Regions from separate parts of the Homo sapiens genome. Here regions 1, 2, 3 and 4 are each linked to region 5. The links are contacts of gene promoters, found by promoter capture Hi-C in blood cells and fetal thymus (Javierre and others, 2016). All regions are on one chromosome and are shown on one strand. Each heading gives the region's core, a stretch centred on a gene start or on the middle of the fragment in contact. The rest is flanking DNA. Distances are from core to core; before and after follow the strand shown. Region 1 overlaps RYR2 (ryanodine receptor 2). Region 2 has its middle 38 kb from the start of GPR137B. Region 3 overlaps RYR2 (ryanodine receptor 2). Region 4 overlaps RYR2 (ryanodine receptor 2). Region 5 holds the start of ACTN2 (actinin alpha 2).

Evidence for each region. The method cuts DNA at HindIII sites, captures the fragments that hold promoters and counts their contacts. A CHiCAGO score of 5 or more calls a contact.
Region 1: a fragment that was not itself captured here is called in contact with the fragment with the promoter of ACTN2 in region 5 in 1 of 17 cell types (M2 macrophages); the score reaches 5.4 in M2 macrophages.
Region 2: a contact is called between a fragment that was not itself captured here and the fragment with the promoter of ACTN2 in region 5, in 1 of 17 cell types (fetal thymus). The highest score is 5.2, in fetal thymus.
Region 3: a contact is called between a fragment that was not itself captured here and the fragment with the promoter of ACTN2 in region 5, in 2 of 17 cell types (M2 macrophages and M1 macrophages). The highest score is 5.6, in M2 macrophages.
Region 4: a fragment that was not itself captured here is called in contact with the fragment with the promoter of ACTN2 in region 5 in 1 of 17 cell types (M2 macrophages); the score reaches 5.2 in M2 macrophages.

What each region holds. Positions count from the first base shown.
Region 1 is chr1:237,578,903-237,584,798 of GRCh38, forward strand. The region is part of intron 29 of RYR2 (ryanodine receptor 2); the gene reads left to right. Among named protein-coding and RNA genes, the nearest start is that of MIR4428, 110 kb to the left of the region's middle. The HindIII fragment of the contact is 1,466 bases long and covers 889-2,354 here.
Region 2 is chr1:236,102,070-236,107,422 of GRCh38, forward strand. No RefSeq gene overlaps it. Among named protein-coding and RNA genes, the nearest start is that of GPR137B, 38 kb to the right of the region's middle. The HindIII fragment of the contact is 1,535 bases long and covers 2,142-3,676 here.
Region 3 is chr1:237,419,868-237,425,750 of GRCh38, forward strand. It overlaps RYR2 (ryanodine receptor 2), which reads left to right. Exons shown (of 105, transcript NM_001035.3): 12 at 3,225-3,381. Among named protein-coding and RNA genes, the nearest start is that of MIR4428, 48 kb to the right of the region's middle. The HindIII fragment of the contact is 491 bases long and covers 1,470-1,960 here.
Region 4 is chr1:237,542,485-237,548,493 of GRCh38, forward strand. RYR2 (ryanodine receptor 2) reads left to right here. Exons shown (of 105, transcript NM_001035.3): 26 at 5,947-6,009. Among named protein-coding and RNA genes, the nearest start is that of MIR4428, 74 kb to the left of the region's middle. The HindIII fragment of the contact is 1,288 bases long and covers 2,549-3,836 here.
Region 5 is chr1:236,683,923-236,689,546 of GRCh38, forward strand. It overlaps ACTN2 (actinin alpha 2), which reads left to right and starts at 2,577. Exons shown (of 21, transcript NM_001103.4): 1 at 2,577-2,877. The coding sequence starts at 2,752. RefSeq lists a silencer at 2,433-2,522 and an enhancer at 4,161-5,624. The HindIII fragment of the contact is 13,171 bases long and covers 1-5,624 here.

The sequences.
Region 1 (5,896 bases), core at 372-2,871, 890 kb after region 5:
CATGGAGAAATGGTCTCTTCCTTGATGACCTCTTGGGTTGGGTTTATCTCTCCCTGTTCTTTTGTACCATTAGAATAGTAACATCTTAAGGACTGAGAATCAGATATCAGCTTAGAGGGAAAAAAAAAGAAACAAAACACAACTAAGAAGGCCAACCAGTGCCTTTCATTCTAAGTCTCTGGAGAAACAGAAGCAAATCTTCTAGTTCATTTATGATCTAAGCCCAGCTCACCAATTTAAAAAATCAGAACTTGAGTCCCAAATACCAGCTAATAATAAATTGTACTTTTTCTTTGCCTTGTGCTCTCTTCCTTGCCACGTGAGGATAATTTACTTCTTCTTCTTCTTTTTTTTTTTTTTTTTTTTTTTTTGAGACAGAGTTTCACTCTTGTTGCCCAGGCTGGACTGCAGTGGCGTGATCTTGGCTCACTGCAACCCCCGCCTCCTGAGTTCAAGCGATTCTCCTGTCTCAGCCTCCAGAGTAGCTGGGATTACAGGCATGCGCCACCATGCCCGGCTAATTTTGTATTTTTAGTACAGACAGGGTTTCACCATTTGGTGAGGCTGGTCTCGAACTCCTGACCTCAGGTGATCCACCTGCCTCGGCCTCCCAAAGTGCTGGGATTACAGGCGTGAGCTGCTGCACTGGGGGAAAATTTACTTCTTAAAGCACACTCATAGGGCAAATTTCCATGGGTCAAAAAACTATTATTAATTTAATAGGAAAAAAGTGCATTCTTGAGCTCCTATATTAAACCTAATTTGTATTAAAATTATACTAAATCTCCCTAAAATGAAGTCAGTAATTAATTAACATGTCATATGCTCACCTAAATGTATTCCCTTCTTCACTTGTTCTTCAGTTTGGTTGTTAACCTGTTCTACCAAAGCTTGTTCTTAACTATCACATAGTATAAACTCCAGATTCCCTTACAGAATATATCATACCGAATATGTACATAATTCAAACTTCAGTGTAAGGAAAGCAAAACAAAACCAGCAACAATAAAGTTGGAAAAAAACAATAAAGACAAAGGAATGTCAGTGAAGAAACGCAGATGATATCTGATTTACCCAGCATATTGACGGCATAGGGAAAACCATGCACAGAGTCTTCTCTGATGTGAAGCGTGTGCTTGTCTGCTGAAAGAACTTAGGCGCTATGGGCTAATTCTTACGACTGTGAGGAAGACTGCACATCTCACTCTGCTTCTGCTTGGCTCCTCCAGAGCCACGTGAAATCACAACAATTCTTTTTTTTTTTTTTTTTGAGACGGAGTTTTGCTCTCGTTGCCCAGGCTTGAGTGCAATGGTGTGATCGCAGCTCACTGGAACCTCCACCTCCCAGGTTCAAGGGATTCTCCTGCTTCAACCTCCTGAGTAGCTGGGATTACAGGCACACACCACGACGCCTGGCTAATTTTTTGTATTTTTTGTAGAGATGGGGTTTTACCATGTTGGCCAGGCTGGTCTCAAACTCCTGACCTCAGATGATCCGCCTGCCTCAGCCTCCAAAGGTGTTGGGATTACAGGCGTGAGCCACTGCGCCAGGCCCCAACAATGCTTTAAAAAAAAAAAAAATGAAGAAATGCCTTAAGGGGTAATGAAATGAATTTCCCATAAAGTAGAATTCAAATTCTTCTAATGAGGGATGATTTCCGGGTTCCTTGGGGCTCCACACACATGGCTTTGGTGGACATGTGTCTGCTGGCAGATACAGCGTTCTGAATACAAACCGTGTCTCCATTCTACCTGTTATGGACTGAGTTGCATAGCTCTAACCCTCAATGTGGCTGTATTTAGAGATGGGGCCTTTAAAGGGGTAATTCAGGTTAAATGAGGTAATAGTGTGGGGCCTTAATCCAGTATGGCTGGTGTCCTCATAAGAAGAGGAGAAGACACCAGGGTTGACTGTGCTCAGAGAAAAGACCATGTGAGGATACAGCCAGAAGGCTGCCATCTACACACCATGGAGAGAGACCTCAGGAGAAACGAAGCCTGCTGACACCTTAATCTTGGCCTTCCAGCCTCCAGACTGTGAGATCACACATTTCTGTGGTTTAAGTCACTCAGTCTGTGATCATTTCTTATGGCAGTCTGAGCTGACCAATACACCACCCCTTCTACTCTTGCATCCCCTACTAAGCTAGTACTATTCTCAATTTATTCTTACGGGAACAGCCTTATATTATCAGTAGTTTGAAGAGCTAACCATATCCTTAATTAAAAATAAGTGAGAGAGTCACTTAAAATCTTGATGTATAGTTTATGGTAAAAGAACGGTTATTTATGTTTGGAGATTACCACATTCTACAGTGTCTGCTGTGGATACGTATCTTGTGTTGTCCATTTCAAGCTTCTCAGCTATTCTGCAAGTAAAGATCATCTCAGAGGCCCATGATGGTTATAATCAAATCCAGAAACAATACTTTTGAGTCTGTATTTGCCACCTGAAAGGAGTGTGAGTAAAATTGAATTCCTGGTCCTCTCAGAACTCATGGAATTCCTTTCCTCGGGAGAAAACCAGATTATTTTTGTAATTAAAATAGCTGTATAGCTGTAGACAGAAAAGAAAATAAAAAAGAGAGGCAGGGAAAACTTTCCATTATTGATTTTATCATGCTGCTGTTTTAGAAAAAAAAAAGAAGCCAGGATATAGAACTACTAGTTTGTTCCTACAGTATGCTTTGTACCCTCAGTTGAAATATTGCAGCAGTTAGATTATTTGATGGAAATGGGTGGCTTATTCAGAAGTCTGGTTTTCAACATGGTGTGAATTAAGGTTAGTAGGTCTGTACCATCCCCAAACCCACCTGCCTGGCTTTACCATAACAGCTGAAGTTCCTGTCACCAGCATCCTCTGTGCAACCTGCTATCATGATACAGACCTGGGAGAGTAACTTATTATTGGGAATCTCCTTAATTAAAAATCAACACTTGTCAGAGGAAGGAAGAAATCAGGACTGTGAGGCCAACTTCTATAGCAGAGGAATCCAAGTACAACCCAATTCTGAAATGATTCTTGTGTGGCCTTGGGCAAATAGCCTGTTTTCATTTCCTTAAAATAAAAACACAAATTAGAGATGATCTCTTCTTGTCTAGTTCAGTTCTAAGATTCCAGAAATCAAAGGCAAGTGTTTTTCTGTTTGTTTGTGTTTTACCTTCCCTCTCAGAGTTCTTTATTTTTTATTTTTATTTTATTTTTATTTTATTTTTTGAGACAGAGTGTTGCTCTTGTTGCCCAGGCTGGAGTGCAGTGGCATGAGCTCAGCTCACTGCAACCTTCACCTCCTGGGTTCAAGCGATTCTCCTGCTTCAGCTTCCTGAGTAGCTGGGATTACAGGCACTGGCCACCACACCCAGATAATTTTTTTTTTTTGTATTTTTAGTAGAGATGGAGTTTCACCACAATGGCCAGGCTGGTCTCAAACTCCTAACCTCAGATGATCTGCCCACCTTGGCCTCCCAAAATGTTGGGATTGCAGGAGTGAGCCATTGTGCCTGGCTAGCATTCTTTAAAAAAAAAAAAAAAAATCAACTTTGATTTTAGATTCAGAAGCTATATGTTCAGGTTTGTTGCCTGGGTATATAGTGTTATGCTGAGGTTTGTAGTACAATTGATACTTTCACCCAAATACTGAATATGGCACCCAATAATTTTGCAACCCTTGTCCCCCCACCACAGTTGTCCCCAGTTTCTGTTTTTGCCATCCATCTTTATGTCCATGAGTACCCAGTGTTCAGCTCTCACTTGTAAGTGAGAATACACAGTGTTTGGCTTTCTGTTCCTGGGTGCTAAGATATGGCCTCTGGCTGCATCTATGTAGCTGCAGAGGACATGATTTCATTTTTTTATAGCTGCATAGTATTTCATGATGTATGTGTACCACATTTTCTTTATCCAGTTCACTGTTGATGGGCACTGAGGTTGATTCCATGTTTTTACTATTCTGAATCGTGCTGGGATGAAACCTATGAGTGCGTGTTTCTGTTTTTGGTAGGATGATCTATTTTCTTTTGGATATATATATATATATACCCAGTAATGGGATTGCTAGGTTGAATGGTAGTTCTGTTTTAAGTTCTTTGAGAAATCTCCAAACTGCTTTCCACAGTGGCTCAACTTATTTACATTCCCACCAACAGCGTATAAGCATTCTCTTTTCTCCACAGCCTCGTCAGCATCTGTTCTTTTTTGACTTTTTAATAATAGCCATTCTGACTGTGTGAGATGGTAGCTCTTTGTGGTTTTGATTTGCATTTCTCTGATGATTAGCAATGGGAACATTTTTTCATGTTTGTTGGCTGCTTGTATGTCTTCTTTTGAAAAGTATCTGTTCATGTTTTTTTGCCCATTTTTTAAATGGGGGTGATTTGTTTTTTACTTGTTGGGTTATTTAAGTCCCTTATAGATTCTGGATATTAGGACCTTTGTCAGAAACATAGTTTGCAAATACTTTCTCCCATTTTGTAGATTGTCCTTCTCAGCATTCTTGATTCAAATTCTAGCATCCATTTAACTACCTATAGAAACTTAGACAAATGACTTAACATCTTAGTTGTTTCCTCATCTGAAAAAATGGGATTAATATTAAATAATATAGGCAAAAGTACTTATGTATTATATGGCACATAGTAGGCCACAAGCAGCTAGCTGTTACCTTTTCTTCTGATCAAAAAATGTGAATTTACATCTTCATATAATATTGGTCATTTTTATCTGCTTTTTGGCCATTTGGTTTGGGTTATATATTTAATACATGGATTCTTAACTGTATTTCAGAAATGTTAAAATTTGAAATAATTTATTCTTAGGAAAAGCTGGTACGCTTGTGATCTGCTTTATCTTCCTTTTATTGTAGCCCCAAACAGAGATTTCAAGCCTGTATTTTGCCCCTACATCTTTGGGACTGCTAGCTCCTTGGCTGGATTTGCATGCTCATCACCCTCCCCTCTGCTCTGGAGCAGGGAGGCTCATCAGCACAGAAAGTTAAAATTTGCTGAAGCCATCTGTCTTTTGTTGGAGGAAGCAGCTTAGCCATAAGTTGTAGCTACTGTTTTAACAGATTTGCAAATAGTTAGGGTGGGTCTGGCTCAGGCCCAAGTAACTGATTGGGCTCATATGCACTAATTTAAGATCCACTGCCAGAATGAAAACTTCCCTTATATATCATCAGGCTCTGTTATTTGCAGGGTGTCAATTAAGGTAACTGGATAGAAGATCAAGAACACAAAGGACAGGAAGGTGGGACCCATATTTTACATGTGCTGGGGGAGAGGCATGATTTTGTGGAAATCTGTTTTATTGTGTTGAAATACTTGTGTGTGTTCTGCCTACTTCATGCTAATAAAGAATTGAACCCCAGTTATGTTTAGCTATGGAGTGATGATTAAGAGTGATGTCATTTACCAACCTGTTTTGTTCAATTTATGCCAAACATTCCATCTTAATATCATTTATCATTTTCTGACACTATATGATGTAGACAGTGGTATACAATGGTAACTAGTTTTTTATTTACCTGTTACCTGTCTTTTGTATTCAAAGTTGTGCTCCAGAAAGTCAGGGGTTATTTTTGATTTTGTTCACAGCTATATTCCCAGTGTGTAGAACAGTTCCTGGCACATGGTAGGTGTTCATTAAATATTTGCTGAATGGAGACACCTGATACTCTATGAAGACAATGTAGAACAGTAACTTAGAAAAGGGATTGCCAAACTAAGGCCCAAATCCAGCTCACCACCTGTTTTTTTTTTTTTTTTTTTTTTTTGAGACAGGGTCTCGCCTTGCTCTGTCACCTAGTCTAGAGTAGTGTGGAGTGATCATAGTTCATTGCAGTCTTCAACTCCTGGGCTCAGGTGATCCTCCCATCTCGGCTTCCCAAGTAGTTGGGAC
Region 2 (5,353 bases), core at 1,659-4,158, 580 kb before region 5:
GGGTGTATGTGTATGCGTGGGTGAGTGTGGGGAGTGTGAGTGTGCATGAGTGTGCATGAGTGTGTGGGCACAGAATTTATCTGATCCCAAACCATTTTCACACCTACTCTCCCATTCGGAGGCCCATTAAAGGCCCCCCAAGCACTCCCCTGTCCCTCCCGCCTGTGGAAGGGCCGCTCCTGCTCTGAGGTCTTCTAGCACAGCCCATCTTGCACAGTGGCCATTTCCTGCTTGCATGGTAGTTATTTGTACCATTGTCTCTGCTCCTTCTAACTGGACGTCTCCTGAGGACAACACAGCGTCCGGTCTGTCGTTGTCTTCCCGAAGCCACCAGCACACAGTAGGTGCTCAACAAATAGCTGGTGAAGGCTGGGCACGGTGGCTCACACCTGTAATCCCAGCACTTTGGGAGGCCAAGATACGAGGATTCCTTAAGCCCAGGAGTTCGAGACCAGCCTGGTCAACATAGCGAAGCCCCGTCTCTGTTTAAAATGTATATAACTGGTGAACTCGTATCAACCCACCCCCCAGCTCAGTGTTCTCCACAGAGTCCTTGGGGGTGTTTTCTCTCCCCTACATTTCTGCTTTCAGCCCCAGAAACACCTGCCCCGGCAGCCTGGGGTGGGTGGGTGGGACAGCAGCTCCCTGCAGGCTTTGGTGAGGGTGGCCCCACCCGGAACTCCACATGAGGTCAACCTCCCTGGTCTGCAAGTCATCACAGAGAGGCTGAGAACCTGGCTGAGGCACTGGAGGGGCCGTGCGCGGTGACGGGACGCGCTCAGCCTTCTAGGGGCCTCAGTTTCCCCTCTTGGCACTAGGAGCAGCACCTTCCCACCCACTTCACAGGCCGTTGCAAGATGATAGCGGCGGCAGCTTTTGAAAAGCTCTGAATGATATCAGACAACAAATCACAGCACTGAAAAAACAGGTCTAGTGCTTTCGGTGTGAGAAAAGGTTATTTTTCAGTGTGCTGAAATACTGTACGGCAATTAAGTTGCTGAAGATGGATTTGAATGAACTAAAACTTAAACGTGGCAGAGAGAAAGCAGCCTGAGGCATGGCTGACTCTGCTCTTTGGTGTGGAAATGAAGCCCAGCGGCCTGGGGCTTGGCCTTTGTAGATCAGCCTCCGAAGGTGAAGCTGGAATGAGGGAAGGCATCTGCCCCCAACACCAGGTGTCTGAGGCTCTGGCCCCACCCCACAAAAGGGAGACACTCTCCAGCAAAGCTGCCGCTAAGCAGGGGCTCGGCGGTGACTGCAGCTGGTGCATCTTTTCTTGTTTCCGTTTTGCTGTGGTCACTTGATTTTAGAAGTTGCTGGAGGTACCTGTCCACCCCCTCCTCAGACAAGGGGCTGGGTTGGTTTGCAGGTAGAATCACTTTCCCTTTTCTCTGGACTTGATTTTCAGGCCAGTGGACTTGCGCAGCCTTTGTTTTGGCTGTTGTCCCTTCTCTAGTCCTTGCTATGTTGCTGAATATTAGCACAGTATTTGTAAGGGAGGGTGGGTTGGAGTAGAATGAAAATTCAACCATTTTTGCCTGACAGCAGATTTGATAGAAGTTTTAGTAGAGGAGAAGTTAGAATTTAACTCATGATTCATTAAATATATGTTTTCTATATTTCTTCTTATAAGAGATTTTCGACATCAATCATGTATCAAAGAACAGAATATACATACAATTTCCATTTTGTCAGTTTTATCCAATTCATCCACATCATGCAGAAACAGAAGTTTCCAGTAGATGGCGCCAAAGTCTGTCTTTTCTCCGCCTCCCTGCGCGCTCTTCGTTGTTTCAAGATCCGCACATCAACCAACCCTCCAGAAAATGACATTTCTTTATCAGCGCAGACCAGCACGAGGTGCTCTCCACAGCAGAAAATCCCAGTAAGATGTCTGGCAAGAAAAATAGCCCCAAGAGTTGTAGCCCTGGGCAGTAAAACCAGAAGCCAGGAATCCTGGTTTCCAAACAGTTGATGGGTTTTGTGCCAGTTCAGTTTTGAAGCAACGGCCCTGCGGTACTGAGGGTCAGAGCCGTCTCCCATCTGCTCCCTCTCTTCCTCCCACTGGCCCCCATGGAAGCAGCTGCCCAAGCTTCTTGAGAAGGTGAGTGCCGGAACTCCAGGACAGGAAGAAGACTCTAAGCTTGGTCTTAAAAGACCACAAAGCGGCCTGGCGCGGTGGCTCACGCCTGTAATTCCAACACTTTGGGAGGCCGAGGCGGGCTGATCACGAGGTCAGGAGATCGAGATCGTCCTGGCTAACACGGTGAAACCTCGTCTCTACTAAAAATACAAAAAATTAGCCGGGCGTGGTTGCAGGCGCCTGTAGTCCCAGCTACTCGGGAGGCTGAGGCAGGAGAATGGCCTGAACCCGGGAGGTGGAGCTTGCAGTGAGCTTGCTGGATCACTCCAGCCTGGGCGACAGAGCGAGCCTCCATCTCAAAAACAAACAAACAAAAAACACCACAAAGCATGAGATCCAACAGCCTGGGCAACATGGCGAGGCCTTGTCTCTAGAACAAAATTTTAAATTAAAAAAATTAGCCAGACATAGTGGTGTGCTTGAGCCGTAGAGGTCAAAGCTGCAGTGAGCTGTGATTATGCCACTGCATTCCAGCCTGGGCAATAGAGTAAGACCCTGTCTCAACAAACAAACAAACAAAAAGCCAAACAAACAAAACCCCACGAGATCCTAAGGTTCCCATGGCCTTTCTTCTTGCACTGGGCCCATGACTCTGCCTCAGGCTGTGACCGGGACATGAATGGAGAGGAAGGAAAGGGAAATGGTAAAGGGGGCAGGATTGTCTCCAAGTACTTCCCCAGGTCCAGGGGAAGAGGGCTGGCAGGTGAGGAAACCAGAGAATGGGAAACCCAGGCTGAACCCTGATGTTGAGCCCGAACGCTGATGCACTGCCGTCTGTGTGCATAGCACAGTGAAAACTGCAAAGAGATGTGGTTCCTGGCCTCCAGGAATTAACGATCAGGTGGAAAGAAAGTTCATTCCACCCAGGGATGCGTTGGAGCCAGCTAGCACCTTTGAGCTGATTGTGCACGTCTCTACACAATGACACCATGACGTTGTGTCAGTAGTTTCAAATCCGCCATGTGGCAGTATTCACACCAGAGAAATCAGCGAACTCCACAAATCAGGGCTCCCTCCACTCCCCCAGAGCTGAACTTTAAACATTTACCTGCATGCTGGTGACTCTGCCTCACTATAGCACAAACTGCTTAAATAAAGGTGGGGCGGGACATTTGGTCACAGTCGGGAAGCAGTTGAAAGTGTCATGGGTTTGAGTCTAAGGTCAAGCTCTTCCGCTGATTGACTATCTGACCCTGATTATCTCCACCTCAGCCTCTGCCTCTCTTTAATGAGACTGATGCTATCTACCCTAGTTAGTTACAGAGTGGCTGGGAGGCTTAAATGAGATCGGTCTGTGTGGATACTATGTAAATTATAATGGATTTTATCAAGGTAATAGATGCAGCTTTAAAACATTCATAAAATTATGAGAATGAGGCCTACCAAATCCCAGTTTCATAAGGATACATATGATAATGCATATTTGTTTGATTTCCCATTTATTTAATAACACTTATTGACACTACCCATATGCTAGACGCTGCTAGTTGGGCAGTCTTAAGAGAAGATGTAAAAACACTTTGTAGATTACAAAGCTTTTTTTTTTTTTTTTTTTTTTTTTGAGATGGAGTCTCACTCTGTCGCCCAGGCTGGAATGCAGAGGCGTGATCTTGGCTCACTGCAACCTCTGTCTCCAGGGTTCAAGTGATTCTCCTGCCTCAGCCTCCCAAGTAGCTGGGACTACAGGCATGCATCACCACACCCAGCTAATTTTTGTAGTTTTAGTAGAGATGGGGTTTCGCCGTGTTGGCCAGGCTGGTCTCCAACTCCTGACCTCAAATGATCCGCCTGCCTGGGCCTCGCAAAGTGCTGGGATTACAGGTGTGAGCCACTGCACCCGGCTGATTACAAAGTTGTTTTTTTTTTTTGGTTTTTTTTTTTTGAGATGGAGTCTTGCTCTGTCACCCAGGCTGGGTGGAGTGCACTGGCGCAATCTCGGCTCACTGCAAGCTCCGCCTCCTGGGTTCATGCCATTCTCCTGCGTCAGCCTCCCGAGTAGCTAGCTGGGACTACGGGCGCCCACCACCACGCCCGGCTAATTTTTTTTGCATTTTTAGTAGAGACGGGGTTTCACCGTGGTCTCGATCTCCTGACCTCGTGACCCGCCCGCCTCGGCCTCCCATACAAAGCTTTTATACAAGTCTTTTGTAAAGTAGAAGGCATCATGCAAGGAAAAATGTTGTTTTTCTCAGCTTTCTTCATCTTTTCCAATCTGGACACACATTTTCACTGCAACTAATATTATACCGATACTTTCATTAGACTAAAATACCTGGCAGCGGTCACAGACAATGGTGTGGAAAGGAAACCAAGACAAGAAAACATCCTTGCAATATTTGGCTGAGGCAGGAGAATGGCGTGAACCCGGGGGGCGGAGCCTGCAGTGACCCGAGATGGCGCTACTGCACTCCAGCCTGGGCGACAGAGCGAGACTCCATCTCAAAAAAAAAAAAAAAGGCCATAATAAAATTTATACAAAATTATTTCTATGTATGCCTATATGAATAGGGAAGAATATACATAAAGATATTCACAGTGGCTATCTCTAGGTGGTAAGATTATTTTAATTAGCCTTTCTTGCTCATATGTAATTTTTATTTTCTCTACAAAAATTGGCTACGAAATTTTGGAGATAAAAACTGAGAAGTAAAAGATCTTCATGCAGCTATTTATTTTGTAGAATTACAAATATGGATATGAAAGGAGCCTTACAGGTCATCTGGTTTCATAAGATGGGGAAACTGAGGCTGAGGGAGATGGGAAGGAAATAACTGAGGACTTTGAGTTTTCTCTGAATTTGCATTCTCTTTTTTCTCTCCAAATGTGTGTGCGGAGCTTTTGATAATTAATCTAAACCTGTATACTCTACAATGAGATTCTCATCTTTCATTATCTTTCTGACTTTTTGATGTATCTGCTTCCTCTGGTATGGTCATTTGTCTTTGCCTTGTTTCTAATTTTTTTTTTTTTTTTTAACATTCAACTGACTGCTTGGTTTCTCTTTTCTTTGAAAGACTCTTGATGTAAATAAGCCCTTTATCCCTATCTGGCCTCTTTAATTATATCTTCTCACGTTTGCTTTCTGCTCTCTACCGACTAATTTCTCAGAAATTTGCAAGGGTGAATCACAATGCCTCCAAGCCATGATTCCCAGAATCAGAAAATTGCTTTTTAAATTTGAGGTAGACTGAAACGTTTTTCATCCACGTA
Region 3 (5,883 bases), core at 465-2,964, 740 kb after region 5:
AGGAAGTTTACATGTCTTATATGCAATGGCCACATAATTACTAATTTTGCATTATATTTAGCAATTTATAGTGAAGATCCTGCTTTTGTTTGTGATAGAACTATATTGCCTAATGCCAATGTTTATATTCAATATTTGGGATACTCGGTCTTCTCTTTTCTCCAGTGAGATCCTATACTATATATTTGTTGTAGTTGATGTGGCCCATTCATTATATATTTTATACTGCATACTCTTACACATGAAACTATTGTCAAAAGTTTTTCAGTATCATGGCCTTTTTAATAAATGGTTTTAATGTAGGGAGTTAAATTGAATAGAAAATGCTCTCCTATATTTTACTCCAGGCAAAATTATAGGGATATTGTAAGTGAGATATGTGTTAGTTCCTGTAATAGGAATACTCATGGAAATAAAAACTATGAATTACATAGAGTTCAAGTTCTATTTTTTATGTTGCAAATAAACAAAATTAAAGGGTGACATATCATAAAGAAGTACTCACTATTCCCCAATTCCCTTTGAGGTAATTTTGAGTAAATATCGATAATACGTAGGGCACAGTTTTTTGATGTTACCATAGGAAATTGCTTTATAAAACTCCATTACTATTGCCAATTTTAGTTTTTACTACATATGATTTTCTTGCCTTGCCCTCTCATTTGGGAGGAGGTGGGGGTCTGGGCATGTGAGACCAGGCTAGTTTGAGTGGCTGGAAATGAAAGCAAATGTGCTTAGACTTAGACTATGCAGTGGTTTTGCCAAAAACTGGCCACATTCATTCCATTTCTACCAGAATCCTCTTAGAGACTTCAAAGGAGCACTGGTACATATGAGTTCTATTGAATAGAACTGAGCCCAGAACATCTTCCAGATACGCTAGCAAATAGTATATATCTGGTTAAAATTTTGTGCTGTTTTGAAAATGAAGGTGTGTTCCATGATGATTAAGATGAATTGTTATTCAGAAGTGATTCATTATTTACAAATATTTCATTGTTTTTCCAAATAATGGAAACAAATATTAAACATATTTCCAAATATTTCATTGTTTTTCAAATAATGGAAACAAATATTAAACATAATTGTGACCGGGCACAGGGTGGCTCACGCCTGTAATCCCATCACTTTGGGAGGCTGAGGCGGGCAGATCACAAGGTCAGGAGATCGAGACCATCCTGGCTAACATGATGAAACCCCGTCTCTACTGAAAATACAAAAGTTAGCCGGGCGCGGTGGCTGGCGCCTATAGTCCTGGCTACTCGGGAGGCTGGGGCTAGAGAATCGCTTGAACCCGGGAGGCGGAGTTTACAGTGAGCCAAGATCGCGCCACTGTACTCCAGCCTGGGTGACAGAGCGAGACTCCGTCTCAAAATAAAAATAATAGTAATAATAATAATAATGATAATTGTGGTTTTCATAGTATTTGCAAACAATACACTTAATTTTATAAGAGGAGGATTTTAAAAAGCTTGTTTATTTCCAAAATAGAAATACTTTAATGTGCTATTATTGGTAACAAACTTTAATTTCATCTTAAGACAATACCGTGTTATCTGGTTTTATTAGTATACGGTTATTAACTTAATTGGGGGGCTTCCCAAATTAATTGTCTTTATAAACAAATTCATGTGAAAATGAACTTGTTATAACATTCTACTGCTAATTTTCTATGCTAACATCTCAAGTCAAAAATCCAGGTTAGGAAAACAACATTAAATTGATTTATAATTTACTAAAAGATTGCTAGCTTTGAACCAAGTACTCTCAATTTGTAGAACACAAACATTTTTAATAAGTCTGTATGAACCCAAGTTTATTAAATAATAAGATTATATTGAAAATCTCCATATATTTACTTTTTCTTTGACTCATTGTATTTTGACAAAATCATCCAGTGTAAACTGTCTTTTAAAAAATTATCCTTATGTTTCATTTTCTGCTTGTTGTTGACATATGAAGCTTTACAACATTCATTATTTTTAGAGTATACACTTTTTCTTCATAACATATCTGGCTGTATACCTTTTGTGCTTTTTGGCCTTGAATTGGAATTATCTAATATCAAATTTGTCATTTCCTTTTGAGGTTTATTTGCTTGTTGAATCTTTTCTACTCATTCGTTTTTAGTTTTCTTGCGTGCTTTGATCTTAAGCTTGTGTCTTATCAATGATATATATGGCCTGTCCTCACTTTGCATGGTACGGTGTTAAGGGAAAGTCATGCACGATAGAACTGTGCCATCACTCTGCACCTTAGCATGGTTAAAGCTCCTAAATACACAACCTTCAGTTAACAAGGTAATGTGCAAAGCAAGAACAGCTTGTATTTTGATTTTTCTATTTTATCCTACCTGAAAGTCATTTATTTATTTTTAATATACAAGTGATAATCGTACATACTTATGGGGTACATAGTGATGTTTTGATACAGGTAATGTATAGTGATCAGATCAATTAGCATATCCATCATCTCAAACGTTTATCATTTCTGCGCATTAACAACATTCAGTATCCTTCAAAGCAAATTTTTAATGATCATAACTTATCATTTTACTGAAACATTCTATATTTTCTGTTTATTACATTTTTTCCTGACTTTTTTAGAATTTTCATTTTCTTGGCTTATCTTTTTTGTTCATCGCGTTCTAATAATATAATTGTTCCACAATATTAAAATGTAAAGTATAAGAATACATTTCTTTTGTCAGGTAAATATAGTCTAACTATAGACTTCAGTTTATATATATGAGTTCCAATTAATCATACTTAGACGTTGACCACAATACTACTGTTTTTCAAGTCTGTGCAAATACAGCAACAGTTTTTAACTAGTAAATGCTAAAATATTACTTGGAGTTATACTTCCTGCATTATTTGCATTAGAGCTTGACTAATCTGTATTAGAGGGTGACTTGGAGCACAAGTTCTTTGTTATCTTTGCATAGAATAGGGCGCTGTGTGGATGGTACGGCATTTAAGTCAGAACACCTTGAGTTACATTTAACTTCTTCTTACTATAAGCTTTGCGACTTTGTGTATTACTTATCATTCTGAATAGCCATTTTGTTATTTGTGAAATGAAATTAATATCACTAATATCCTAAGTTTTTTGAGAACATTAAGACAATATATATGACTGTTCATTGTCCGACATATGTTTTAATAGCTACTCCTTCTGTGATTGTGGGTGCTATTGGATCAAGTCCTAACTGTTTTCATTAGGTGGAGTGGAAGCCACATAAGATGGGGACAGCCATTCCGACTACGCCATGTCACAACAGGAAAATACTTGAGTCTCATGGAAGACAAAAACCTTCTACTCATGGACAAAGAGAAAGCTGATGTAAAATCAACAGCATTTACCTTCCGGTCTTCCAAGGTGAGACAGAAAATATTTTGGGTTTCCTATAAATGTTACCCGGTCATATTTCCTTTGATGTTAGAAAGGAGAAAAGAAATGAGAAAATAAATGATGTAAGTATGTCTTATGTGTATTTCTAAATTCCCAGTTTCTCTTCCATACATTCCTCTCTGGTAAAACTGACTTTTCTAAACCATTAAAACCTGCCTATAGAAACAATCTAAATGTACAATAAAGGGTAATGATTACATAAAGGGTAATGATTGCATAAATCATACTGTATACATACATATTGGGATAGTATGAAGCTGTCAAAAATATAAAACATGAAAATACCTATTATACGTCATCAAATGAAAGGTGTTTCATGTCGTTTACAGTTCTTAAAACACATCCATCCAGCTCCTTCCTGTTTTCTTAAGCATTGACAGTATACAGTGACCACAGATATTGGGATGTTTTTGGGTTACAGTGTGAGGATAAAGCACACTGGAATCTGTGTCTCAAAGATACATTTATACATCCATTCTTATATGCGGACCTTCATCCTTAACCCTATTGAATCATTTTTATGATAATTGCTATATTCGTCCATTTTCACAGTGCTATAAAGAAATACCTGAGACTGGGTGATTTATAATGAAAAGGAGTTTAATTGACTTATACTTCCGCATGGCTGGGAAGGCCTCAGGAAACTTACAATCATGACAGAAGGGGAAGCAGGCAGGTCTTACATGGAGGCAGGTGAGAGAGAGAGCAGGAGAGTGAGTGTGAAGGAGAAAGCGTCAAACACTTAAAAAAACCATCAGGTCTCACGAGAACTCACTCACTGTCAGGGGAACAGCATGGGGGAAACTCGCCCCATGATCCAGTCACGTCTTTCCCTCGAGACGTGGAGATTACAAATTGAGATGAGATTTGGGTGGGGACACAGAGCCAAACCATATCAATTGCATATTTCTGTTCATAATTTAATGAAGATTGTGAAACTTGGGAAAGATGATTGGAACAATATTAAACTACTAACTAGCTTTCATCTTAGAAAGGCAAAACTTTGTTCTTTTAAATAGATAAAGATTTGACTTTGTATTTCTGCAATTACTACATACTCATCTAGGTATAGGCATCTTCACAGTGTTATTCAGGGCTCATTGAAAAGAAAAAAACGTATTACTTTGTTTTTTCACTGCTAGGAAATTCTTAGTATTCAATCGCCTTTCCCATATTTTGTATGCTGGCCCAATTCAAGTTGGATTTTTGATAACAATGTTATTAGATGAGGAAAAGATGTTAAGTACCATGTATAATATATTCAAAACAAGGTCATGATTTGGCTTAGTAGAACTACAATACATGCACTACAATGCTTTTTCAATACTGGATTAGGTTTAAATTTTTACTTTGCCCCTCTCTAGAGATCTATATGTTAGGTAAAATCTTCTAAATATTTTACAAGCATTAACAAATGATTATTTCCTATTTAGGTAAAGCGTTTACCCTAAAAGACCAATTTTCTGTATGCTTAATAAATTCCATTTTATTAATCTTATAATGGTGTCCTGTCACAGCATAGGATTGGCAGCATAAACATAAATATTTATTGAACTTTGAAGGTGTCCCACAGAACTTCTATTTGCAGTTGTCACTGGAGGCCACTGACCACTTTATTTCTACAGTAGGTCTATGGCCTGGATTGCTCCAGTGAGTGCAGGAAATAGAGAACATTAATTTTGCTAATTATGAAAATAAACTATTTCACTATACTCTTAATAATGTATTTCATATAAATAATGTCTAACAAGAAAACATATTCATTATTTAGAGTGATAATTGTAACAAAATTAAAAGTAGTTATTTACAACTACTTAAAAGTTTTTTAGTGCTTTAATCATATTTCATTTCTTCTGATTTTGAAAGCAGTACATGTTGGTCTTTGAAAGTTTAGAAAATACAAAAAAAAGTAGGAGTAAGAACTACCTAATTATGCAGAATATCAACGTTTTGATGAATTTCCTTCCTAATCATTTTTCTTTTGCTGTGTAAACGCACACAACCTTGCAACATGGGGATATAGGGATCACCAACACCCCTCCCCCATGCAATTGAAATCTACATTTTGACTCTCCAAAAACTTAACTACTATAAAGAAGGCTGGGTGTGGTGGCTTACACCTGTAATCCCAGCACTTTGGGAGGCCGAGGCAGGTGAATCTGACCAACATGGTGAAACCTCGTCTCTACTAAAAATACAAAAATTAGTCGGGCGTGGTGACATGTGCCTGCAGTCCCAGCTACTCGGGAAGCTGAGGCAGGAGAATCGCTTGAACTCGGGAGGCAGAGGATGCAGTTAGCTGAGATCGTGCCACTGCAGTCCAGCCTGGGCGATAGAGCAAGACTCTGTCTCAAAAAAAAAAAGCTATAAGGAAGATAAAATATATTTTCTATGCCTTAGGTGGAAGTGGACCATCAACAAAATTGGTCCTTGTTTTCATGTTGTGTAGGCTGAGGAGGAGGAGGAGGA
Region 4 (6,009 bases), core at 1,943-4,442, 860 kb after region 5:
AGGGAGGTCTTGTTCAGTCGTTGGCCATTCTCATCTGACTTTGCTGTCTTCGACTGAATTGTCTTCATTCATCTCTGCTGGCATTTTACAGGATGTTTGTGTTCTGCACTGATTTGATATTGGGTTCACATTGGGTGCCCTCCTCCCCTCTGTGAGTCACTGTTCCTTCTCGTGCCTCATCCGGGCCTCTTTAGGAGTGCTGGAAAGCTAAGAATGCTCTCTCTGGCCGCTTGGAGATTGCAGCCTATTGGTGGAGGGAGAAGGAAGGGTTGCCACAGCCCCATCAGCCTGGAATTAGTTTGTCACCATATCTGTACTGTTCATGGGTTTGGATCTGTGAAATTATGAGACCCTGCCATTTGGCTGAGTACAATATAGGAAGCAAGATAGAAGCTCACTTTGGCTCTGCGATCTATCTGGTCCTCACTTGGGCAGAAGGCTGGGGAGAACTTGCCTCCTCTGACTCTCCCCTCCTGTAGGCTCTGGAATTTTCAGCCTATCTTAGACTGGAGGCCCTGGGTTCTTTATCTGTTCTTTTCTGTCCTAAGGCATAAGGGCTTTGTTCCTTTGGTATTCAAAAGCAGAGATTTTAATATCACAAGGCCCTGCTATAAAGATCTTTGTCTCTGCATTGAATATTCAAAGACATTTTAAAATCCAAAAGCCAAGTATAGCTTTTTTTTCCCTCTCTCTCTCTTGAAATGCCTCCTTCTTGAGAGCAGTGGATACTTCATGGTCTTGTTTCAAAGGGGCTGAGGGGTGTAGGAAGCCCTTCAAGTAAAAAGGAGTTTGGGGTCAGGGGAGTAGGGCACATCTTCATATTACATGTTTTTATTTAAAAACAAACAAAAGTAAAAAAGTAGAAGAAATATAACCCTTGTTTTCTCCCTTCTGGAAATTAATCCTTCTGTATTTGTTTTCTGGAGAATGATTCTGAATATTCTCTATATGTTTTCTGTGAAAATGTCAGCCTAGTATTCGTTTCTAGTAGATGTGCTTTCAGCAAAACTTGCTCTTAATGTCTCTGGTGTGCAGTCATCTGAGATTTCTCATTTGTTCCAAGGTACTTGAAGGGCTGATTTGGCTTTGAAATTTACAGCTAACACTCCCTGAACTTGGCTGTAGCCTTTACATATTTACTGTACATCTTTCACAATATAATGATTTCCAAGCTTCATTTAACTTGATCCATATTAAACAAGTAAGCTTGGGAGGTGGGGGTGGCTTAAAAAAAACAAAAGGTTGGTGCTTACTGTTTTTGGTATTCTGCCTTGTTTTTGTTAAATCACTTTAATTGGCCCTTTAATTACATTACACTGAGCCCTTGTTTCAAAGACTCATCTGGAATACCTGCTTAGGAAAAATGTGGGTCAGATGGGAATGAAGCACAAAACTGAGCTGCAACTTAACATGAAAATTCCCCAGTGGAGCCAAACACTGTCAATTTTTTGTTTATATCTTTGGTGACTTGATGCAAATAGAATCGACAGTTGGCCAGGATCTTTGTTGTTTTGTTTTGTTTTCAGAGGTATTTAAAAAAAATTTTGCTATCGGGAAAGCAAAGCCTAAACTGTTAGGTATTTGATTACTCTCAATGTTGTTGTTTTATTCTTTTTTATTTTATTTTATTAAATTATGTAGTTGCCAAAATAAAACTAAGAGCTAATAACTATAAAAGTATTTTGATACTTTGTAAAGTGAGCATATTAAATCATTTGTTTAATTTCATATATATTCCTCATAAGCTAATTTTATAGGATGATTGATGGCACAGAGAATGTGCATGTTAAAGAAAGGGGGTAAAAGCTACTTATACCTGTTCAGTAAATAAATTGGAGGAGAGAAAAGTCTGTCGGCTGATTCTGGCAGAAGTTTCTCATGATGTTTGAGAAAGTAGAATGTAATACAGAGACATCTTAATATGAGCTATATGTTTTTTGTATGAATATAATAATAATAGGAGTTTTTCCCATTTTGGTGGCTATAAAATTTTACTTTCCAAGAGTTATTTTAGTATTTTTTCTTTTATTTACTTTAACTTTTTGGAAATCAATCTGAAATTTTACTTGAAAGTGTTCAGTTTCTGGTTCATGTCAATTACATTTGATTCAAAGGCTTTGTTCATTTTTAACCACAAGAAGATAATCATTCATATTAGCAGTTGGTTGTCCTCTGTGTACCTAATTAAATTGTATTAATAAGGTGAAATGAACATTGTCAAACTGTACTTATTTACTTTTAAATATATCTCATTTTGATATAACAATTTGATTCTTAGCTCCTTTGTCAGAATGTACTACAAACAGAAAATTCGTTTCATAAATTATTGCTGTTACCATTAATTCATACTGGTGAAACATTCATGATGTCAATAGTGTTATCCATTATAATTAGTTAAAGTCCATGAATTTCATAGATGTTCATGTTTATTTTTACTGTACAAATGATTTGTTGTTCAAAATAGGTGGAAATAAAAAGGTTCAGGTGAAGTGAGAGTTTGTAACTATAATTTGGATGGGATTATTAGCCATTTAAAAAAACAATTCTAAGCTTCAAATCCTTTCTCGTACAAGGTTATAGAGGAAAGAAGGTTAAAAAAGTGTAGTTTACATCTGAAGATGAATGTGAACAAATTATTGGGCTACTTAAACAGATGCAAATGCATCTCCATAAGTTTTCATTGAGATCACAGATTAAAGCAATTCTAGAAGAAATCTGTATGGGAAGAAAACAATGTAGAAAATAAAGAGGAATGATTTTGTCAATATTATCCAGCTTCGCACATTAGCATAACTTGTCTATAAGTTTTTATTGGGAAAGACCTCCTTCCCACCTTCCACCTTTCAAAAGTACTTCCTCATTCCATGAGATATTGCTAGAAAGTCTACCATTAAAAATTGGTTTCCAGAAAGTATCACTCCTCTTTGGGAATGCATGTATCCCTCATTAGGGTAGCAATGGCTCCGATCAGTGATTCACAGGTGGATATCGAAACTTCATCATCTGTGTGGCCTCTGTGGCTGCTAGATGGGATCAAGGCTGCTGAAAAGTGAAAGAAGATTGTGTGCTGGCTTGTGCTGGGTGACCATGGGCCAGTTGTGGGGAGTGAGAAGTAGTTGTGAGGAAGCAAGGAAGTACAGAAGACTGGGCTCTTCATCATGTACCCTGAGGCTGCCTCCAGCAAACTGTTAAACTTGGAAATTAGACTATGCTAGCTTGATTACCTGTTGGTGCATTTGAAATGCAGTGGGAGCTTTTTCTTGAAAAATAAAAAAAAAAAAAAATACTTTCCAGGCCAGGAGTGGTGGCTCATGCCTGTAATCCCAGCAATTTGGGAGGCTGAGGCAGGAGGACTGCTTGAGGCCAGGGGTTGAAGAGCGGCCTGGGCAACAAAGTGAGACCTTGCCTCAAAAAAGAACAAAAATAAAACCCAAAACCATAAATATATAATATGTAAAATATATATATTAATGTTTTGGGTTTTTTTTAATTTAAATACATAAATATATCTATATCTATATATTCTAAAATAAAAGAAAATACTTTTCAAATAAGAACTTATATCTTCAGCTGTGATTACAGTTTATAGATTTGCCTATTTAAATGTCAGAAGTCTGTCGAATACAATGATTTATAGAAGTTGTTAAAAAAAATTCCCACATGGCTTCTTTATTAAAAAACAAAAGCTACAGTTAATTGCCCATACAAACAGAGTTTTTATTTAAAATGGAACAAAATTTAATGTCCATAAATTTAACTTATGAATGTAAATTGAATGACATAGATCAGTAATTTGTCCTAATTGTTATAATCTACTCAAAACAAAACATTGGTAAAGCTTTTGTCTACAGAAAAATTACTTTTTTGTGTCTATAGATAAATTACTTTTTTGTTGTTGTTGTTGTTTTTTTGAGACAGAGTCTCGCCGTGTCACCCAGGCCAGAGTGCAGTGGCACAATCTCGGCTCACTGCAACCTCTGCCTCCCAGATTCAAGCGATTCTCATGCCTCAGCCTCCGAAGTAGCTGTGATTACAGTTGGGTGCCACCATGCCCAGCTAATTGTTTTGTATTTTTTAGTAGAGATGGGGTTTTGCCATATCAGCCAGGCTTGTCTTGAACTCCTGACCTCAAGCGATCCACCTGCCTCGGCCTCCCAAAGTGCTGGGATTATAGAAGTGAGCTACCAAGCCCAGCCTATACATAAATTACTTACAATATATGGGATGTATTATAGTAAAATAGAAGTAACTAAGCTAAAGCCATCTGTATTCAACCTTAAAAAAGTTATTTATTGCTGTAATATATTGATTCATTCAACAAATTTTTACTGAATGCCTACCATGTATTGGTCACTATTCTAGGTGCTGGGGGGTCACTGTGAATAAAATGGACAAACTCCCTGCTTTCAAGGAGCTTGCCTTGTAATGATGCCAGTCATAGCCCAGATTAGTAGTCTATTTTTAAGAGAATTTGTAGTTTATTTTCAAAAGCATATATATATATATATATATTTATTTATTTATTTATTTATTTATTTAGAGATGGAGTCTTGCTCTGTCACCCAGGCTGGAGAGCAGTGGCGTGATCTCTCCTCACTGCAATCTCTGCCTCTTGGGTTTAAGCGATTCTCCTGCCTCAGTCTCTCGAATAGCTGGGATTACAGGCACCCGCCACCACACCTTGCTAATCATTGTATTTTTAATAGAGACTGGGTTTCACCATGTTGGCCAGGCTGGTCTCGAACTCCTGGCCTCATGTGATCCACCCACGTTGGCCTCCCAAAGTGCTGGGATTACAGGTGTGAGCCACTGTGCCCGGCCTTTTCTCACATTTATTTTTAAAAGCATTTTCTCATGTTTTAATAATTAATTTTGTAACTTAGCATAATTACCTAGTGAACGTTCTTGAGTTGAAGATGCATTTATGTTTATATTAATTTGGTAAATGAAATTAATTATTTCAACAACTGTATATGAAAAGGCTGTTATCTGCTGGGAACTGTTTTAAGGATAATGGCAGTTAGAAAAATGAATCAGAAACAGATCCTGACCTCAAGGTATAGTCAATAATGGAGAATACAACAGTGACAGAAGAATGGAAGAAAAGCAGTTATAAAATAGGCTTTGTGCCAATCTCAGTAGTTAAATAGAATGAAGCGCTGTGTGTCTGTGTGGAGCAGGGCAGTACTATTGCCCTTATATGTGTGCATTGAAAAGTTAATATTTTCAACTTTGTATTTCTTCCAACGATTACAACTTATACCTGTTTTATTACGATAATACCTTCTCTCTCCAGCCTAGAATGTAGAAGCAGTCTCTGCTAAGAGATCCTTGAACTCTAGGGAAATAAAATGCAATCAGATTTTAGATGGTTATATAGCTGTGATTTTCTTTACTTTCTAGTCTCTATCTTATTTAGTCTTCCTAAATAACGTAACTAGGAATGACAGTAAGGAAATAAGTTACAAATGCATTTAAATTTCCCTGTGGAATAAGAAATAGGTAGTATCTGAAGGATACACTGATTTATGAAATAAATATTACATTAATCTAACATTTAACAATTGAAGAAAAATGACTTCACAGGAAGAGAAATCTCTAAAATATTTCAATAAATAACCAATATTTTGATTTAGACTATACAAAAGCCTCAGCTATTAGGAACACAAACAATGACAGGTCCTTTTCATCTCTGAGAGACAGGTAAGTTGTCTCATTTCTGTCTTATTGGTGTAAAAACAAAAACACAAAGATTATGTGGCTTTTCATTCTGATCAGTTATTAGCTAAAGTGAAAGGAACCTAGGCTTGCTGTCTGGTACTTCACCACTGGTTACCACTGTGGTTTATGGAAGAACAGTAATGAGGTAGGGCCAGAAAATGATATTTACAGAGATTTTTATGAAAAGGCCAATTATACACAAATTTCTTTGTCTCTGATTTGTAGTTACCAGCTGACAAGTGGATACAAGCCTGCCCCTATGGACCTGAGCTTTATCAAACTCACCCC
Region 5 (5,624 bases), core at 1,327-3,826:
GTCTTGAAAACCATTGTTTTATGTGTTTTTTTCCCCAGGCTTTAGTTGTTTCAGGCAGGATGGTAAATCTGGCGCTGTTTTTTCCATCTCATGAAGTCCCCACGTTAATTTTTGAAAACTAAGTTGAACGATGTAGCACTTTTTGTAATTGTACATCCAATTTCTTTTCTTTTCTTTCTTTCTTTTTTTATTTTTTTTTGAGATGGAATTTTGCTCTTGTCGCCCAGGCTGGAGTACAGTGGCGCAATTTCTGCTCACTGCAACCTCCACCTCCTGAGTTCAAGCGATTCTCCTGCCTCAGCCTCCTGAGTAGCTGGGATTACAGGTGCATGCCACCACAGCCAGCTAATTTTTTTATTTTTATTTTTTTTAGTAGAGATGGGGTTTCATCATGTTGGCCAGGCTGGTCTTGAACTCCCAACCTCAGGTGATCTACCCACCTCGGCCTCCCAAAGTGTTGGGATTACAGGCCTGAGCCACTGTGCCCGGCCCAGTTTCTAATAGGTAAAATTTATTGATCCACTTGTTTCAAGAGTATGATTTTAATCCAAAATATAAACTCTAAATTTTAAATTTAAATCCAAGTAAATTAGCTCAGTCACTATTTCCAGGGATACTACTTCTCTCAACAAATGAGCACCACTGTGCGGTGGACACGCCTGTAGTTGCTGGGGTCTACAACTGTGGACGAGACAAAATCCCTGCGTTTGAGGAATTTACATCCTAGTGAGAATGTTTTTGAAAATGTTAATGTGGCGGGGCGTGGTGGCTCACACCTGTAATCCCCACTTTTGAAGGCTGAGGCAGGTGGATCACCTGAGGTTGGGAGTTCGAGACCAGCCTAACCAACATGGAAAAACCCCGTCTCTACTAAAAATACAAAATTAGCCGGGTGTGGTGGCACATGCCTGTAATCCCAGCTACTCCGGAGGCTGAGGCAGGAGAATCGCTTGAACCGGAGAGGTGGACGTTGCGGTGAGCCGAGATCGTGCTCTTGCACTCCAGCCTGGGCAACAAGAGTGAAGCTCCATCTCAAAACAAAACAAAACAAAACAAAGTTAATGCAACCTGTTTGCTAATTGTTATCTTTCTGCATAAAGCCCCAAACAGTAACGGTGAGTGATGTAAAAATTCTAAGGAACAATGATAAATCCAGACAAACTCAACTTGAAACATGTCCACAAATTAGTAGCCCTGAATCACAAAAAATTCTGTAGCATCTGTGGGCAACGTTTATTCAATTGAGATATAAACTGAATTGCAGGCAGGCATCCCATCAGCTCGTCTGGTGCCTAAGGCAACCTCTGGTTTACAGTAGTTGCTTAATACATATTTGATTTAAAAATTTCAGCCTACTTGTCCCAAGGGTCCTCATTTTGCTTCCTGCGGCAGCATAACTGATAGGGAACAGCTAGCCAGCACTAGGGGGATGAAAAGGCGTTAAGTGCAACCCACAGGGCGACATGGAAATATAACACGAAGCTGGCCGCTTGCCCTTCATTGTCAGCTCTCTTAAATTTATGCCCGGTAGGTGAGAGCTGACACTTCCTGCCTTTGGTTTGGTTCCTAACATTTTAATAGGATGGATCCAAATCCTGTGCCTTGATTTCCCCAGGTGAGGGTGAGGAGGAGAGAAAGAAGAGGGGGGTTCTGTAGCTTTTAAACTTTACTCCTTAGGGGCCTGTATGTATGTATGTGTGTGTGTGTGTGAGAGGGAGGAAGAGAAACAGAGAGAGAGAAGAGAGAGACAGAGATGAGAGAGGTATGAGAGACACAGGAGAGAGAGACAGATGAGAGAGAGAAAGAGAGACACGACAGAGAGAGAGAGACGAGAGAGAGAGAGACACGGGAGAGAGAGACAGAGGAGAGAAGAGGAGAGGAGAGAGACACGAGAGACAGATGAGAGACAGTGAGACACGAGAGAGAGAGAGAGATGAGAGGAGAGAGAGACATGTGAGAGAGACACAGGAGAGACAGAGATGAGAGAGAGATATGAGAGAGATCTATGAGAGAGAGACACTGGAGAAAGAGGGACAGAGATGAGAGAGAGACAGACGAGAGACAGACACAAGAGAGAGGGACCGATGAGCGGAAAGAGAGGCACGAGAGAGAGATGAGAGAGAGAGAAGAGGGGTCTCCAATGAATATGTGGGAATATATGGAAAACGCGAATATCCAAATGATATTTGGAAAACTTGGCTGTGTTGGGGTGGTCAGGGACCCAGCCTCTTAGGTGTCCCTCCCCTGGCTCGCGATCACCCACCCGGGACACCGACGGACCCCGCGCCGCTAACCAGCCGCTCTCAGAGCGTGGGTGGCAGGCGTGGCTCTGCTCGGGGCCGGCCGCTCCCCTCACGTTCCCGGAGGCCTCGGCGGAAGGCGTGCAGGCGGCCTCTGGGCGGCGGCTGCAGGGGAGACAGTGGAGGGGCCCGGCGCCCTTGTCCGCCCGCACGTGCTCGGGGCGGGGCGGCTGGGGCCCGACGGGCGGGGCCGGGGGCGGTGGCGGCGGGGGCGTGGCCGGGCGGCCACGTGACGGGCGGCGCGGCTATTAAGCCGCGCGGCAGCTGCTCGCAGCCGGAGCTGGTGCTTCGCCCGAGACCCAGCGCCCAGGCGTGTCGCCCCGAGAGGAGCCGCGCGAAGGTCACCCCGCGCCCGCCGCCCGCCGCCCGCCGCCTCCGTGGGTCCGTTTGCCAGTCAGCCCGTGCGTCCGAGCCCCTCGCGCCCCGCCGCAGCCCCGGCCAACCGAGCGCCATGAACCAGATAGAGCCCGGCGTGCAGTACAACTACGTGTACGACGAGGATGAGTACATGATCCAGGAGGAGGAGTGGGACCGCGACCTGCTCCTGGACCCAGCCTGGGAGAAGCAGCAGAGGAAGGTCAGCAGGGGCCCGCGGGCCGCCCGCGCGTGGTGGGGCCGGGTCCCCCGCGGGGCTCCCGTGCGCGTGGCCGCGTGGCCTGGCGACTGGCGAGAGGGCGCTTTGTGGAGGTGCTGTGCTGTCCTGTGCCCTCGCAGCCCCGGGGGCCCCTTAGGAAAGAGGACACGTCCGGGGACAGGCAGGACACTGGGCGTCGTGTGTGTGCGCGCGCGCTAGCAGCATCGGAGGTACAGATGTGGTTCTGTTCCTCACACCAACCCGCGTTAGACCAGATCTGAAGGGGTCTCTGGTCTGCTCCTGACCCCTTGAGTCTGTGACCTTGGCCCCCGAGTTATACTCTCCTGGCCCGCTTGTGTCCATTTACCCCAGCCTCTCTCTTCCCCATTGAAAGAAGCAAAAGAACATCAGCTTCATTGCAATTTCCACCGGGCTGCCCCTAGAGTCATGGAAAGTCATTTATTCAATCTTTTGGGTTCCTTGGAGAGGGATGTTGTATGAACACTAGACATTTACCGATAGTGACAATTATTTCACACTCTATTTATAATTCATTGAGGTAAGCACACAGGGACGAAGGAGTCAGCCAGCTTCTAAAAGCTCCCTCCCCATTTTGATTGGCGTTCTCTGGGGGCCCAGTGGAACATTCCACTTTTTCAAGGTTTCCTCTTGATCCTCTTGGCTGGAATAAATAGGGAATGCTCACCAGGAGGCTTAATCCCGCCTCTTACTTGACTAGGCAGGGAGCCTGGTTGGGTCAGACATGACAACAGAGACCTGCCAACCCAACCTTAAGATAACGGGGTTATGGCAAAAGCCAAACGCTCTGAACTTTTTTCCGCCTATTTTTCTGGGCGTGGGGCAAGATAGATTTCCCTTCTAAGGACCTGCTTTAGGTGGATAGCCTGTGGTGACCATAGTGTGTATGGGAATCTCTGTATAATGGGTACTGTAGCTGATTGTGCGATAGTATTTGGTGAATAGGGGTATGATGGTGGAGAACACACATCCCAAACTCCTCTCGCAGCAAACAGCGTTAGCTGGAAGGAGAGATGATTATCAAATAACCAAGCACTATTTTTATATCAGGATGTCTCTTGTCTACCCTCTCTCCTAAAATACCATTTACTATTATTATTTTAAAGCTCTAATTTAGCTACATTTCAGTCTCTCCCCGAGTTTCTTAAGGCTTTTACCATCCCTACCTTTCTTAGAAAATGGGAGTAATAAATAGAAAAAAACAAAACTTCAAGCCGTCTACTATTGTTTAAAGGACTGATTGTGAAGGAAGTACGAGGCATGAGGATTACTAATGTGTCATCTGGACCAGCTGATGCATCATCCATCAGCACGAAGTTAAAAAGTGACTTTAATTTTTAGCAGTGAGTGTTTTTTTTTAAAAGAATTTCCCCAAATTTTGATTACTGCACTTTTCATGGATTAAAAAAAAAGATAACTCCCGGGTCTTTGTTTTAAAAATTGCTTTCTTATGAGGAATTGTAAAATAGCTAAGGAATTGGACAGGTAGTCTGCCCATCATTTTTGAAAGTGATGGTCTAATCACAGTGCTTTCTGTTGCCTTTTTTTTTTTTAAGTACAGTACAGTAGCAGGATAGAGGTAATGACAGTTTCCAGAGGCCACATTGACATCCCTTCTGCCATATTTAATCTTTTAACTTATTTGCAGTATTTTTGGATATATGGCTTCGAATTCTTTTAGGTTTGGGATTCCTATGTTGACTGTATTATTATAATTGCATAGCACTTGAAGTAAAGTTGATTATTTAAAAATAACATACTTCCTGATCCCAGTCCAAAATAATGTTAGAAAGTTTAAGGTGAGAATTTTTTTTAAGATAGTTTGAATGTTGTACATGCTTGGGGGGCAAAAACTACATTAGGAGAGATCTAGAAGATTCTCTATTTCTACTTTTGGTATAGACCCTGCTCAAGTCAGTAAAATAATATTGAACTGTGAGCTCAGTGTGGCCAGAGCAGTGGCCTCTATTTATGTCCCATGAGACAAACTGCTGGAACCGGACAAGGGTAAAATACCATTGTTTCTATTGTGGGCTGCCTTCTCCACACTTGCCATTTCAGTGATATGCTGGGTATGAGATCTGTCAACAGATGCTGGTAGCACATGATGACGTCCGTGGCGTTATAATGGATGTGATGCCTAATTATATCTACAGTTCAGAGAGTCTCATGGGCTATGGTAATCCTTGCTCTGTGGTGTGGAAGGAAAGCCTTGCTGTAGAAGGACTTTATAAAAGTGTAATGAGTTTTATAAGAGAAGGGAATGCAGAAGATAGTGGGTTTAGCATGAGTGCGAATAGGCGTTTCAACGTGTCTACCTTCTCTTTCAAGAGTGTGTTAGGAAGAGTGTGTTACACAGAAGAGTGTGTTAATAGGGTTAGGAATATTTATATTTTCTATAAAGAAGTATTTTAATTCATACAACTCAAGGGTAGAAGAAAAATGCCTGCAGTATTACAGATGTGATATATATATATATATATATATATATATATATATATATACACACACATATGTATATTTTATATATATATATAAAATATGTAATGTTTAGAGACAGGATTTTTCTCTGTTGCCCAGGCTGGAGTACAGTGGCATGATAATAGCTCACTGTAGCCTTGACCTCCTGGGCTCAAGTGACCTCCATGACGTCAAGGCATGCACCACCACACATGGCTAATTTTTTTATTTTAAAAACTTTTTTTGTAGAG